Regions from separate parts of the Homo sapiens genome. Here all the other regions are linked to region 1. The links are contacts of gene promoters, found by promoter capture Hi-C in blood cells and fetal thymus (Javierre and others, 2016). All regions are on one chromosome and are shown on one strand. The core of a region is centred on a gene start or on the middle of the fragment in contact, and the rest is flanking DNA. Distances in the headings are between cores, read along the strand shown. Region 1 holds the start of CNIH3 (cornichon family AMPA receptor auxiliary protein 3). Region 2 overlaps LOC105373109 (a long non-coding RNA gene). Region 3 has its middle 57 kb from the start of DNAH14.

The links. Contacts are between HindIII fragments. The CHiCAGO score rates a contact against its expected background, and 5 or more counts as called.
Region 2: a fragment that was not itself captured here is called in contact with the fragment with the promoter of CNIH3 in region 1 in 2 of 17 cell types (M1 macrophages and M2 macrophages); the score reaches 5.8 in M1 macrophages.
Region 3: a contact is called between a fragment that was not itself captured here and the fragment with the promoter of CNIH3 in region 1, in 3 of 17 cell types (M2 macrophages, M1 macrophages and M0 macrophages). The highest score is 8.0, in M2 macrophages.

What each region holds. Positions count from the first base shown.
Region 1 is chr1:224,613,649-224,618,290 of GRCh38, reverse strand. CNIH3 (cornichon family AMPA receptor auxiliary protein 3) reads right to left here and starts at 1,974. Exons shown (of 6, transcript NM_152495.2): 1 at 1,036-1,974. The coding sequence starts at 1,116. CNIH3-AS2 (CNIH3 antisense RNA 2) reads left to right here and starts at 2,064. Exons shown (of 4, transcript NR_183287.1): 1 at 2,064-2,093; 2 at 2,555-2,679; 3 at 2,864-3,087. The HindIII fragment of the contact is 4,503 bases long and covers 286-4,642 here.
Region 2 is chr1:224,895,792-224,900,433 of GRCh38, reverse strand. The region is part of intron 1 of LOC105373109 (a long non-coding RNA gene); the gene reads left to right. Among named protein-coding and RNA genes, the nearest start is that of DNAH14, 32 kb to the left of the region's middle. The HindIII fragment of the contact is 622 bases long and covers 1,935-2,556 here.
Region 3 is chr1:224,870,135-224,874,776 of GRCh38, reverse strand. No RefSeq gene overlaps it. Among named protein-coding and RNA genes, the nearest start is that of DNAH14, 57 kb to the left of the region's middle. The HindIII fragment of the contact is 2,698 bases long and covers 679-3,376 here.

The sequences.
Region 1 (4,642 bases), core at 725-3,224:
GCTCCTTCTAAACATTTGGCCTTGGCCATTCTTCCCACCAGCCCTCTGAGGGTGAGGATAGGGGGCTTAAACAACCTCAGAGAAGGAAGCCTTGAGAGTTGCATGCACTCGCTAAATGTTGCACAGTCTTTGAGAGGACCGGCGTACGCACTCCTGCGCGCTCTCTCAGTACTTCTCTTCCCCTATTCAGAAGCTTGCGCTCCTCTATTCCCACCCACACCTAAAGAACTGGGATCCACGGCTGCCCTCCACCTGGCGTAGCCCCGGGAAGGGTGACAGGAAGCTTGTGTGGGCTGGGGACGCTGGGGGCCTAGCGGAGGTTCGCCACCTGCAGGGGGTCTTCAGGAGTCGGACTTCAGACGCCAAGAGGGCAGATGGAGGACACCGTCGTCGCTCTCCACGGTCTCTCTTCGTGACTTTCCTCCATGGCCTTAATGATGCCTGCCCTTCCCAGTCTCCCTCGCCTCCTTGCTCTTCTCCTTCTCGCCTTTCCCCCACCGCCTTCCACTTCGACCCCCATCGCCTGGTCTCCTTCCTCTCCGTGGGCTCGGCTTCTCCCTACCTCTTACAAGGCGCTCCCGTCGTGTTTCCACTTTGTCTCCAATTATATCTAAATGCAACCCACCACAGATGCTGACATTTTAAATGTTTAGTTATTATAGCTACTTGACTAATTGCCGGGACCGACGGCGGCGCTTCTCCTTCGCCTCCCGCCGGCAGGAGAGGACGGGGCGGGAGAGGAAGGGGTTAGTTGTGGTTGTAGCCGCCACTCCCCGGCGCCCGGGACCCGGGACGCCCAGTCGGGCCCTGCAGAGGGTGTCCTACCTGGGCACCAGCGGCCCCTCGCCTCCAGCCAGGGCACCGAAGGCGCGCCCGGCGGGATGCAGCGAACTGCCTCCTGCCCCGGGACAGTGGAGCGGCAGAAGGTCCAACCTTCCGGTTCGCCCACGCCCGCAAGGTGGAAAAAGTGGGGTGAAATCGGGGAAATTTAGCGAAATTGGGGCGAAAGAAGAGAGACCAAAGCGTGTTACTCACGTGCCAGATGGCGAAGAAGATGAGCGCAGCGCACAGCACCAGAGACAGCATGTAGCAGAACGCAGCGAAAGTGAAGGCCATGGCCGGCGGACCCCAATCCCACCACACACGCCAAGAAGCCCCTAGGAGCCCGATGCCTCCCTAGAGGACCGCACTCCCTCCAAGGAGCCGCGTCTGCACGCTCCTCTCCAGGCTAGTGCCCAGGAGGGCGCACAGCTAGCGAAGCGACTCGAGGGTCAGCGAATAAGCGCTGGATTCCCGCAGGCTCCGGCGACCCCAGACCCGGCCCTCCGGCGAAGACAGGAAAACGTGTGTCGAGAGTCGCTGGAGGGAACCGTCCGCAAATCGAAGAAGAAACCAAATCAGCAGCGAACACCTGCAAATTAGTGCCAAGCTGTGAGCCCCTCGAGACCAACACGACAAGCGATGCGACGACTCCACGGAGGACCGAGGGAGGAGGTCCCATTCGCCCCAGGAAGAGCTCTCTGCTTTTCTCCACTAAACCGCTGAGGAGAGACGAGCGCTCCGCTCCGGACCCTCCCGCGCCACCGGGGCGCAAACGGATAGTGTCCAGCGAGGTGCCCGAGCGGCCTCCGAGCTCCTCCCAAATCCCAGAGCCGGGCAGCGCTCTTTCCCGAGAGAAGGAGTCTTTAGGTAGCCGGGAGGAGGTAGGTCCCGTTGGTCCTGCGCCCCAGACGCGGCTTCCAGCGCAGCCGTGCGCTCCGAGGCGCGCCCGTCCCCAACCGTGACTCCGGCCAGCCGGCCTCCGCAACCCAAGTGTCCCGGAAACCGGGGGTCGGACCGGGGCGAGCACTGGCTCCACCCAACGGGCCAACTCCAGCCCGGGTGGCTGCAGCAGTGGGTTTCAGGCCAAACGCTGTAGCTCGCTCCACCTGCTGCTGCCGCTGCCGCCGCCGCCGCCGCCGCCTTTGCCACTGCGAGAACTGTAGCGGTGCGACCCGGGATTCCCTCCTCTCGGCGCCCCACCCTCGACTCCTGTTCCGCTGAGCGCGCCCTCCCCGGCGGGCGGAGACTGCAGCGCCGGGGGCTGAGGAAAGGTGGGTGGCGAAGCGCCGCCGGGCGCTTGGTGGCCGCTGCCGCCGCCACTGCAGCTGTGCACGCCCGCCTCTCGGAGGAAACTTGAAGCCAGCAGTACAAGCAGGGCTGGAGGCCGAGCGGAGGTGGGGCGGGACCGGTTGGAGCAGGGACTCTTTAAACACGTGCGTCTGGAGGAGGTGGGAAGCTGCGGAAGGGTATGGTGTGTGCCTCGCGCCTAAACGCCGCAGCCGCCCCTCCCGGTTCTTGCAGTTTCGCCTATCGGAGTGGGAAGTGTGGGGACTTGGGGCGTTGCCTAGTGTTGGTTGGGGATACAGTGCAAGCCTTGGATCCCAAAGCTGCTTGGATGGATTTTACCAAACTGTAGCATACTCAGTGCTTAGGGCTGCGTTTACTGCTCTGCTCCCAGACCCTGCAAAATTCTCCATTAACGTCCTTCCGTTGCATCCTCTACCCTCCCCAGCCATCCGACCTTGGGACTAGGGAAACGTGGACTTGGTGGGCTATTCTGCGCTGAAGAGGCAGCAACGAGGGCTCGGTGGTATTGGTGTTGGTCCTAGTGGAATTGTCAAGAGGATGCTTTTGAAGGTAGACCGTTTTCTAGCTGCAAGTTACCTAACCTCTTTAATCCTTAGTTTCCTTATCAGAAAAACATAAATAAGAGTAGAGTCAAGCCATTTCAAAGGATTAAAAGGGAACATAAGTAAAAAACCTAGCACTTGGTATACGTTCAATAAGTGGTAGGGATTATTAATTGCACCCTTTCCCCCAGTGGCCCAGCATCTTGGAAGTTCACCATGCTTGCTTTGCAAGAGATTCCTGACGCTGCAGTGAAAGAGGTCCAGTCATTCCAGAGAGAACTTCAGTTTCAGACAAGTCATCAAATCCAGAAAGCAAGGAAAAATACCCTGAAAGACGACTGGCAAATCTCGGTGAAAGAGTAGACGCACTTCATGGATTGGAGTGAATCTTAGAGCACCTGGTACCTTGCACAGGGTGGGAACTAGATAAATAACTATTGCTTGATTCTGACTCTGGTGTGCTAGTTTTCCTGTTCACAGATGTGATTCCAATGCCTTGAGAGCTGGAAGGGATGAATTCCAGCAAGATAGAGATACAGCTTTCTAGTGACAGAACTGGAATCCTGTCTGCGGACTCCTAATCCTGGGCTCTTTCTACTATGCCCCAACATTCCTGCAGCTATTTGGCCACATCTTTTACTTATTTATTTATTTATTTATTTATTTATTTATTTATTTATTTGACGGAGTCTCACTTTGTCGCCAGGCTGGAGTGCAGTGGCGTGATCTCTGCAACCTCCACCTCCCTGGTTCAAGCGATTCTCCTGCCTTAGCCTCCCGAGTAGCTGGGACTACAGGCACGCACCACCACGCCCAGCTAATCTTTGTATTTTTAGTAAAGACGGGGTTTCACCATGTTGGCCAAGATGGTCTCGATCTCTTGACCTCGTGATCTACCCACCTCGGCCTCCCAAAGTGCTGGGATTACAGGCGTGAGCCACCGCTCCAGGCCCTTCAATTTATTTTATTTTATTTTTTTGAAGACAGTCTTGCTGTGTTGCCCAGGCTGGAGTGCAGTGGTGCTATCATAGCTCACTGTAGCCTCAAACTCCTTGCTAGGACTACAGGCATGCACCACCACACCCAGATAATTTTTGTTTTGTTTTGTTTGCAGACATAGGTCTCAATATATGGCCAGGCTGGTCCCAAACTCCTGGCCTCAAGCAGTCTTCCAGCCTTGGCCTCCCAAAGCGCTGGGATTATAGGTGTGCACCACAGTGCCTGGCCTCATATCTCCCTCCAGTTTAGAAACTAGATGCCTTTCAGTGAGAAGTGGAGAAATTAGAGCAAATCCAGAGGCTGATGACCAGAGCAATGAACCGATCTACATTTTATTGCCTCTGGGTCAGGACCGGCTACATACTTTGGAGGGCCAAGTGCAAAATGAAAATGTGGGACTTTGTATTAGGCCGTTCTTGCATTGCTATAAAGAAATACCTGGCCAGGCATGGTGGTTTATGCCTGTAATCCCAGTACTTGGGGAGGTCGAGGTGGGCAGATCACCTGAGCTTAGGTATTTGAGACCAGCCTGGACAACATGGCAGAAACCCCATCTCTACAAAAAATACAAAAATTAGCCGGGTGTGGTGGCATGCACCTGTAGTCCCAGCTTCTTGCAGGGCTAAGGTGAGAGTGTTGCTTGAGCCCAGGAGGTCAAGGGTGCAGTGAGCTGTGTTCATACCACTGCACTCCAGCCTAGGCAATAGAGCCAGACCCTGTCTCAAAAAAAAAAAACAAAAACCTGAGGCTGGGTACTTTATAAAGAAAACAGGTTCAATTGGCTCACCGTTCTGCAGGCTGTACAAGCACGGCACCAGCATTTGCTCGGCTTCGGGGGAGGCCTCAGGGTTGCTTTTATTCATGGTAGAAGGTGAAGCAGGAGCAGGCATGTCACATGGCAAAAGCAAGAGCAAGAGAGTGTTGTGGAGAAGTGCCACACACGTGTAAATAACCAGATCTTGTGAGAACAC
Region 2 (4,642 bases), core at 996-3,495, 280 kb before region 1:
GCTCAAATTGTTTTATGCAACCTGCTACTGAATAATCCTGATTAGTGCCGGTGCTCAACCAGTAGGGTCATGCAACTGTGTTTTTGTTTCTCAAATGGGAAGCTCTCTTTGAGAGCAAGTAGCTTTTACTTTCACATGTGCTATAGCATTGACTTTATTTATTTATTTATTTATTTATTTATTTATTTATTTATGAGACAAGGTATCTCTGTCACCCAGAGTGGAGTGCAGTATTGCAATCATAGCTCACTGCAGCCTTCAACTGCTGGGCTCAAGCTATACTCCCACCTCAGCCTTCCAAGTACCTGGGACCACAGGTGCATGCCACCACACCCGGCTAAGTTTTTTTTATTTTTTGTAGAGACAGAGTCTCACTTTGCTGCCCAGGCTGGTCTAGAATTCCTGGCTTCAAGCGATCCTCCCACCTAGGCCCTCCAAAGTGTATATTTTAAAACTTATAGCTTTTTTCCATTTGCTTACTTATTCCCCAGCACCAAACATAGTATCTGATAGATAATTGATGATCTGAAAATTCTGACTCCGTGAATAAAATGATGGACACACTCACAAGAACTTTACAGGAAATATGTATGTAGTTCAGCCAACTCTGATTCCATGTAAATCTCCCTCATATACTTTGTTTTCACCAAATCTGTTAGTACTGTGCTCCTTTGTGCATATGACTATGATAATGATGAAATAAGATGCATATTCTTCTTAAAGCCCTAAAGTTTTGTGTAATGTTCCTTGACAGAAGTGTTGTTCACTACTTATGTTCACTACATAAGATAGTGCTACAATCTGTCATCTTTTTAAAAATAAGTTTTATTGAGATATAATTCACATACCATATAATGTATTCATTTAAAGTGTGCAAGCCGGTTGTTTTTAGTACTCATATAGTCACCAAATTGTACAACCATCACCATAATCACTATTAAAATATTTTTATCATACCTGAAAGAAATCCCATACTATTTAGCAGTCATTCTCAATTTCTTCCCAGCCCACAGCCATGAAGCAACTACTAATGTACTTTCTGTAGATCTACCCATTCTGGACATTTCATGTCAATGGAACTGACTTCTTTACTTAGCCTGATACGTTCAAGATTTATCCATGTTGTAGTGTGTATTAGTACTTCATTTCTTTTCATGTGTGAATTACATAACATTGTATGGATATACCATTTTGTTTATCTCTTCATCTGTTGATAGATGTTTGGGTGATTTCTACTTTGGGGCTATTACAAATAATGCTGTTATGAACATTCATGTACAAGTTATGGTCTGGATATATGTTTTTATTTCTCTTGGGTAGATATCTAGGAGTGGAATTGCTGGGTCTTATGGTAACTGACTCTATGTTTCATCTTTTGAGTTGCCAAACTCTTTTTCCAACGTAGCTGCACCGTTGTACTTTCCCACCAGGAGTATATGAAGGTTCTGATTCCTTCAGCACTTTGTTATTATCTCTCTTTTTATTACAGCCATCCTAGTGGGTATAAAGTGGTATGCCATTGTGATTTTGATTTGCATTTCCCTGATGGCTAAGGAATGCATAATCTTTTGTCTGATAAAATTGAGAGGAAATGAATTTTTCTGGATAATCAACCATCTCTTATTTGTTTAGGATGTTTCTTCCAATAGGCTTTTTTTCCCCAATAAAACAGTTTTCATGCTTTCCAATTTACTTAAAAATCAGAACAATCCACCGTCATTATTTTTATCTAGGTGTTTCACATATGTATGCCCCCTGAAGGACACACATATTTATAACCCCATAGTCCCTATTGCAATAGTTCTTTGTGTGATGTAGGTATTTTACAAAGACATAATGAATGAATAAAGTAATAATACTTCAAAGAAAAGCTGTATTTTATCCTAGCAACTGTTCTCATGAGAACAGCAAGCAGCAGTACTCAGAGTGAAGCTTTTCAGAGCTGCTAGATATTTTTGATTCAATCTTTGCTTGCCCATTAAAACATTCATTGCATTGTGAATAAGAAAATCCAAACAATCTCCCACCCACCACAACTTTGCAAACCACAAATACATAAATCAGAAGATGTAGTTCATGACAAAAATTCTGGATTATGAGAGAATGGGGATGGTAAATGGATTGAGACAACTGAGAGACTGAATAGACAAATGGACAATGGCCAGAACATATATAAAAATAGAACTCTGATCCACAACCTGCAGCAATCAGGCCAGGAAACAACCCTATTATCTACAATAAACAGCCCAGGAAGCCAGTCTATGATCCACAAGTCAGACTTGCTGGAGATTTGACTACTATCTCTAAGAAACAGTCCAGGAACCCAAACAATAACTCCTGTAACAATTGGCCTCAAATGGCCAGCACTTGCTTCAATAATTGACAGCTTCTTTAATTTTTCTACTTCCAACTTAGGAACTACCAGAAAAAGTCAAATATGCACCCCTAAACATTACACAGGATGCCTCATTTATAGGTAGTCTGTCTGCAGCTTCCCCATGCCAACAGCTTCCAATCAGGGTACACATGAATTCTCTTTTTCCCTACTATAAAGCTTTCCCACTCCTCTGCCTGCCTTTGAATCTCTGCCAAAATGCAAGGGATGACTCCCTCACTATAGTAATCTCTGAATGCATATCCACTCCCTGTTCTCATGTGGTTGGTCTTTATTTCCACACAGGCTGTTTGGATTTAATATCCTAGCCTGATTTAGAATCTGCTTAACTATTTTCTGAATCCAGTTGAAAGAAGTAGTATTCCTATGACAGTCAGGTTACTATGAGTCAGTCTGGTGGCATGGAAAGCGCATGAGGCTTGGAGCTAAGAGATGATTATTGTAGTCCCAGCACACTGCTAATCACTTTGTGACTCTGGGCATGTGGCTGCTGGAGAGTTAGGTTTCTCTAGTTATAAAGTGGGAATAGTGGAGGCCTAAACTATATCTCTAAAATAGCTTCTGTTTCTTAATCACAGAATACTAGAAATGGTTTCAAATAATTTGTGATCAACTGCCTCCTCTAACCTTCTAACCTCATTCTCATCTGTTATGGACTGAATGTTTGTGTCCCCTCCAAATTCATATGTTTAAATCCTACCCCCCAATGTGATGATATTAGAAGCAGAGCCTTTAGGAAGTAATTTGGTCGTGAGGGTTGTCTTAGTCTGTTCATGTTGCTGTAACAGAAGACCATAAAATGGGTAGAATATAAACAAAAGAAATTTATTTCTCACAGTCCTAGAGGCTGGGAAGTGCAAGATCAAAGCACCGCAGATTGGCTATCTGGTGAGGGCCTGTTTCCTTGTTCATAGAAACTGCATCTTCTTGCTGTATCTTCACATTGTGGAAAGGACAAGGCAGCTCTCTGGGGCCTCTTTTGTAACACTTCTGCTGAAACTTTGAGAAAATAGAAAAAAGTCTTAATGTTGTGGAGTAGTACAGATTGAAAACAACTGTTCTATTCCATTTGGATACAACAAATATGCTCCATTGGTCTGCGGTGTGTAAATACTTGATCTTTCTCATCAACCATAGTAAGAGGGGAAATCTAAAAGTCCAGGCTACCCTGACAAGGCTCCCACGTCTCTCTCCCTGATGTGCCTGGGGTGCCTAGTGCATCTAAGTCATTAGTGGAACCTGTATGGTGTGGCCCCATCTGGACGTGTGTCTACTGAGGAGGTGTACTGCTTCTTTTAAAAAGCTGCCTTGCATGCCATGTGGCTATGTGTCCTTGTTCCTAAATAGACAAATGCAAACCTTCAGCTGTAAGCTGCCTGTTTGTTCCTTCCCTGAACATGGTCACAGAAGCTGGGGACAGCTGGCTGCAGAGGCTGGCCAGGGCTGCTCAGAAGTGCTGGGTATGTGGATGGTAGTGCCCAAGGCCAACCTGACATGTGGGTTATGGAGCTGCAAGGTAGTGCTCACTCTTATAAAGCAGTAACCTGCAGCTCTGCCAGCTACTACAGAAGCAGTTATTCCAAAGAAGGCCAATCCCCACTAGTCCTTAGGTCCTGCAGGCTTGGATCCAGTGTCTGTCGAGTACTGTAGTGGTCAGTTTGTCCAATGCTTACATGCAGCCACATCCCAGAGCACGAGCCAGTCCTATGTGCAGACTTAGGACTGGTACCAGCATCTGACACCTCATAGCCCAGATCCACTGTGATCGCCTCCCCATTGTCCACCTCTGTCCAGGATATTATCTGGAGCTACCCTTAGAGATTCTCAGGGAGTTTCTGAAACCCACCTGCAACGTGCTGTCATTCACTGGTTCTTCAACTTGACTGCAAGTTGGAATCATCTAGGGAGTGACAAAGATTCTTTGCCTGACCAAACTTTAGTCAGACTCCTGAACATCTTCCTAAGCCTATCTGTGCACTTACAATTCAGCTTCAGCAAAGATCCCTGCTAGGTCATCCCTTCACCCTTGATGTCTGATCAAACCTCAATATTGGATTGGGTTCCTCATCCTCCACCATCCCACTGGTTGAAGACATCCAGGCCTGTCTTCAGCAAGAATCCTATTAAGCTGGTTTAGCTAGAATCTCCTTTATTCCTGATATTTCCTCTTAGTAACTTTGCATCCATGGGCCCCACCCTGCTCCTTGGCTTTAAATTTCCACTTGCCCATGCTGTAGTCAAAGTTGA
Region 3 (4,642 bases), core at 778-3,277, 260 kb before region 1:
CTACTAGTTGTTAATTTGACTCAATATTTATATTTAATAGTTACATTTAATATTGCTATTATAAATGTCATTTTCCCACTTTTGATGGGACTTTATATATAAATGTATATACACAGAGCAACATATTCATTTAATAATCATTCATATTGTTTCTAAAATGAACTGAACACTGTGGAAGTTGCTGTCACCAGCTATTTCATCACATCTCCTCCATATTTCAATTTTTACTGAATATTATATTAGAAGTCTAAAATCCTCCAAGCTCCAAATATAACTTTTAAAGGCAATATCAAATCAATATTTAAAAGAGTGAGGGTAGGAAATCCAGTAGAATTGCAAACCCATTACAGATAGATTTCAATGGTCTGGATTCGTTAAGAAAAAGGATTTTAAAATAAAAATGCATTAGGTCTACAGTCAACATGATCCTCATATTTTGCTCTCTGACCATGGCTCAGAAATTGCCAGGTCTGGCCTCTCATTTCTTCTTTCCCAGGATTACAAGGAAGACTTTGAACTCAGCTCCAGAGTTCACCTAAAGATTAACCTGTAAATGGACTGTAGCTGTTAAAAAGAAAAAAAAATTGTGAGTCCATTAGGCTGAGAAGACTCTTGTGCCTCAGATTCCTGCAAAAGCAAACCTAAGCTCAATATAAACAGAAAAATGAAACTTAAGCTTAACCAATCAGAAACCACCAGTTAACCTCTAACTAGGAACTTTCCACTTTAGCCAAATTTTTTTTTATATAAAAGTAAATATTTTTTACTTCCCCAAACACCTTATAAAATTTTCCTCTCTCTGCCTCCCGGGTCCCCCACAGTGGAGTGCTGAACCATGGGTGGTCCAGTGTTATTGATTCATGAATTCCTGTCTACTCAAATATACTCTTTAAAGTTTTAATGTGCCTAAGTTTATCTTTTAAAATAGCCCATGATGTGGTGGCTTTTAAACTTTATTTGGGGATGATAATCAGAGGTGCCATAAGCAGCAGTGAGATTTTAAATGAGTCACTAAAACCCGTCTTGGCTCAGTTTTCCTTATTGTGAAATGAGGCATCTGTGGATTTATGACAAGAGCTAGGAAGCGTGGAGTAATCTGTAGGTGGGAAAAAAGAATTGCAGATCATATGAAAGATTTAGCAGCAGACTTCCACAGTTGTCATGTAGAAAAGGTCAGATGCATGTTTCTTTATGCCCAGCCCCCAGCTGGGTGTCTGATCTTGCCTGCCTCCTCAGTGAAGGAGAGGAGGGGAGAGTTGGTGAAAGGAGAGGGAGTGAATAGGAGAGGAGACAAGGAGGGAGAAGAGAAAGGAAAGAGAATAAATGAATGAGTAATGAATGAGTGATGCAGGGAGGTCAATGCGTGAAGGTGATGGGTTACTCACACTCATCAAGCCTGGTGACAAGTGGACCTGGGCAGAAGTAGCTGGATGAGTCCCTAAAGCCTCTAGCCTTTCCCTAGCCTTTCAAGGTGCTCTAGTCACTTCTCTGGAGAAGGAGGTGGAGCCACCCTACCTCAGCTCTGCAGCCCCAGAGCTGGAGAAAATGCTCCAAACTGCAGAAGCCTGGCCAGGGTGCTCAACACTGCAACATTTTTTACAGTTGCTGCTTTTCTCAAAGACTTTTAAATGATGGTTGTAATACTGGAAAATGAGTGTTTAAATCATACTTTAGACAGGAGGGAACCTAAAACTTATTCGATTCCACCTTTTAACTTTGTGGATAAAGAAAACAAAGACCATATTTTATTGCAGCATACTCTCATGAATAATGACACACTTTGTAGAAAACGTCCAATAAAAGATGACCTATTGATGGCAGTGCTATTTCACAGCTGCTTCTATATTGAATCTCCCCAACTGGATTGAAAATATATCAAGGACAGAGATGGTGACGAGCCACTTCTTAGTTTTGCATCAAACAGAGGCCCATGAACACTGCACATGCTTATAAATATGCAACACCCAAGCCATACAATGCACATAAAGCACACATATGTGCACACATAGAGAATACACTCTGTCATCCATACGCACACATGTATGTATGCGCACACATGCATATGCCACACGTGCATGTGCCATACACGTGCACATAGAAACACATTCACTCACATACCTACACCAGGACTGTAATACACATACACGTACCTGTGCATCTGCACACACATGCACACTTATGCACATAAACAAGCATGCACATATACATATGCACCCATCCTCTAAATTCTGTTTTCTGGACCAATCCACAAGTGCTGCATGACTAATAAGGCCATGAGTGATTTTACTGAACACACTGATTGTTGTTTAAAATCTGTACCAATAGCTCTTTGAGAAAATAATCTAAATATATTGTTCTCAAGTCCCTCAACTGAGACTAAAAAATTATAATAGGCTCTGAAGAGAAGTTAGCTTTATAAGAAAATAAGACAGCCCCAAAATACTGCTCTCTACCATATGACAGCACCTCGGGGGGATTTATTCACATTTTTATACCTGTTCTGAGGGAAAGAAAAACACTTGGTTCTCCCAGAGAAGAAAGATGTACAAAAGAATACTAGTAATAATAATAAAAACAGCAATCAACCTGTATTCCATCCATCTGCTCTGACAAAGTAATGCTTTTAAAACATAAGTCTGATGATATCACTGGTCTACCTTAAACCTTCCAATAGCTTCCCCTCACTCAGAGTCAAATGCAAACTCTCAACAATGGCCTTCAAGGCCCTGCAGAATCTGGCCCCCATGACTTTTTTCTCTGCCCTCATCTCTCTCTGCTTCGGCCCCAACTCCTTCCTATTCTAAACATACTAAACAAGACCCCAACCCAGGACCTTAGCGGCTGTGGTTGCCTCTGCCTAGAGCACCTTTCCCCAAAGCAGGCAGAGGTTCACACCCAAATGTGACCATCTTCTATAAACTCACACATGCGATCCCCTTCCCCTGCTGGACTTTTTCTTCACAGACCTTATTGCCACCTGCACTGTACATCTGTTTTCCCCTCGCCAGACTGTAAGCTCGATCCGAGCAAGGACTTTTTTCACTCACCACAGGATCCCCATGGCCTAGAATGGCATCAGACATGTACTATTGACTACTAAATGCCCAAGAAGTCTACACTGAATGAATAAATGAATTGCTTGAACACATATTCTATGCCGGGCACTTCCTAAGTGCTTTATATGCTTTATCTCATTTAGTACTTTATGAGGTAGGCATGGGTATGAGCCTCTCTGAGGCTCAGAGAGTTCAAGTAGCATGCCCAGGTAGCTACCTGAGTGTCCCCACTACATGGAAACTGCTGATCCGAGAGAGAGAGAGAGAGAAAGCCAGAGAATGCCGAAGATGAGAACTATGATCTTTTTATAATCTAAGCTTGGTGATGACATCCAATTACTTTTGCTATGTTTTATTCATGATAACTGAATTGGTAAGTCCAGACGCACTGCAGAGAAGGGGACTGCTGACACAGTGCATGAATACCAGGAGATGAGGACCATCTTAGAGAAGGTCTACCACACTTCTTTCTGTCCATCAGACTAGCTCCTTGGCAAATCAGGAATAAAGTGCTCACTGTTGGGAGATGTAGAGATACATAATTCTGCCTCTACAAGGGTGTTTTTTTAACCAATACATAATTTTGTACATATTTATAAGGTACATGTAATATTTTGTTATATGCAAGAATGAGTAATAATCAAGTGAGGGTATTTGGGGTATCCATCACCTCTAGTATTTATCATTTCTATGTGTTGGGAACATTTCAAGTGTTCTCTTCTAGCTATTTTCAACTATACAATACTTTGTTGCTAACTATAGTCACTCTTTTTTGCTATCAAACATTAGAACTTATTCCTTCTATCTCACTGTCTGCACCCATTAACCAACTTCTCTTTATTCCCCCATCCCATCCAGACACCTTTCCCAGCCTTCAGTATCTATCATTCTACTCCCCATCTCGATGAAATCAACTTTTTGGCTCTGACTTATGAGTGAGAACATACAATATTTGTCTGTCTGTGTCTGGCTTATTTCACTTAACATAATAACCTCCAGTTCCATCCATGTTGCTGCAAAGAACATGATTTTTCATTCTTTTTTTGTGGCTGAATAGTTTACACTGTGTATATATGCCACATTTTCCTTATCTATTCATCTATCGAACACTTAGTTTGATTCCATATCTTTACTATTGTGAATACTGCTGCAATAAATATGGCAGTGCAGATACATCTTTGAAATGTTGATTTCTCTTCCTTTCGATAAATACCCAATAGTGGGATTCCTAGATCATACGGTAGTTCTATTTTTAGTTTTTGAGAAATCTCCATACTGTTTTCTGTAGTGGCTGTACTAATTTACATTCCTACCAACAGTGTATAAGAGTTCTTTTTTCTCCAGATTCTCATCAGCATCTGTTAATTTTAATAACAGATTTTAATGGACCTTTGAAATAAGACAATAGTGATTCTTAATCTGATTTCATAATACTCATATATATGTCTTTTTATCATCATCTAATGCAATTCTTAAAATTACAAACACAACAACTACCTTGATTTCTTTCAATATTTTATCATGAAAAATTACAAGCAAATAACAAGGTTAAAAGAATGTTACAGTAAACGTTGGTATACTCATCA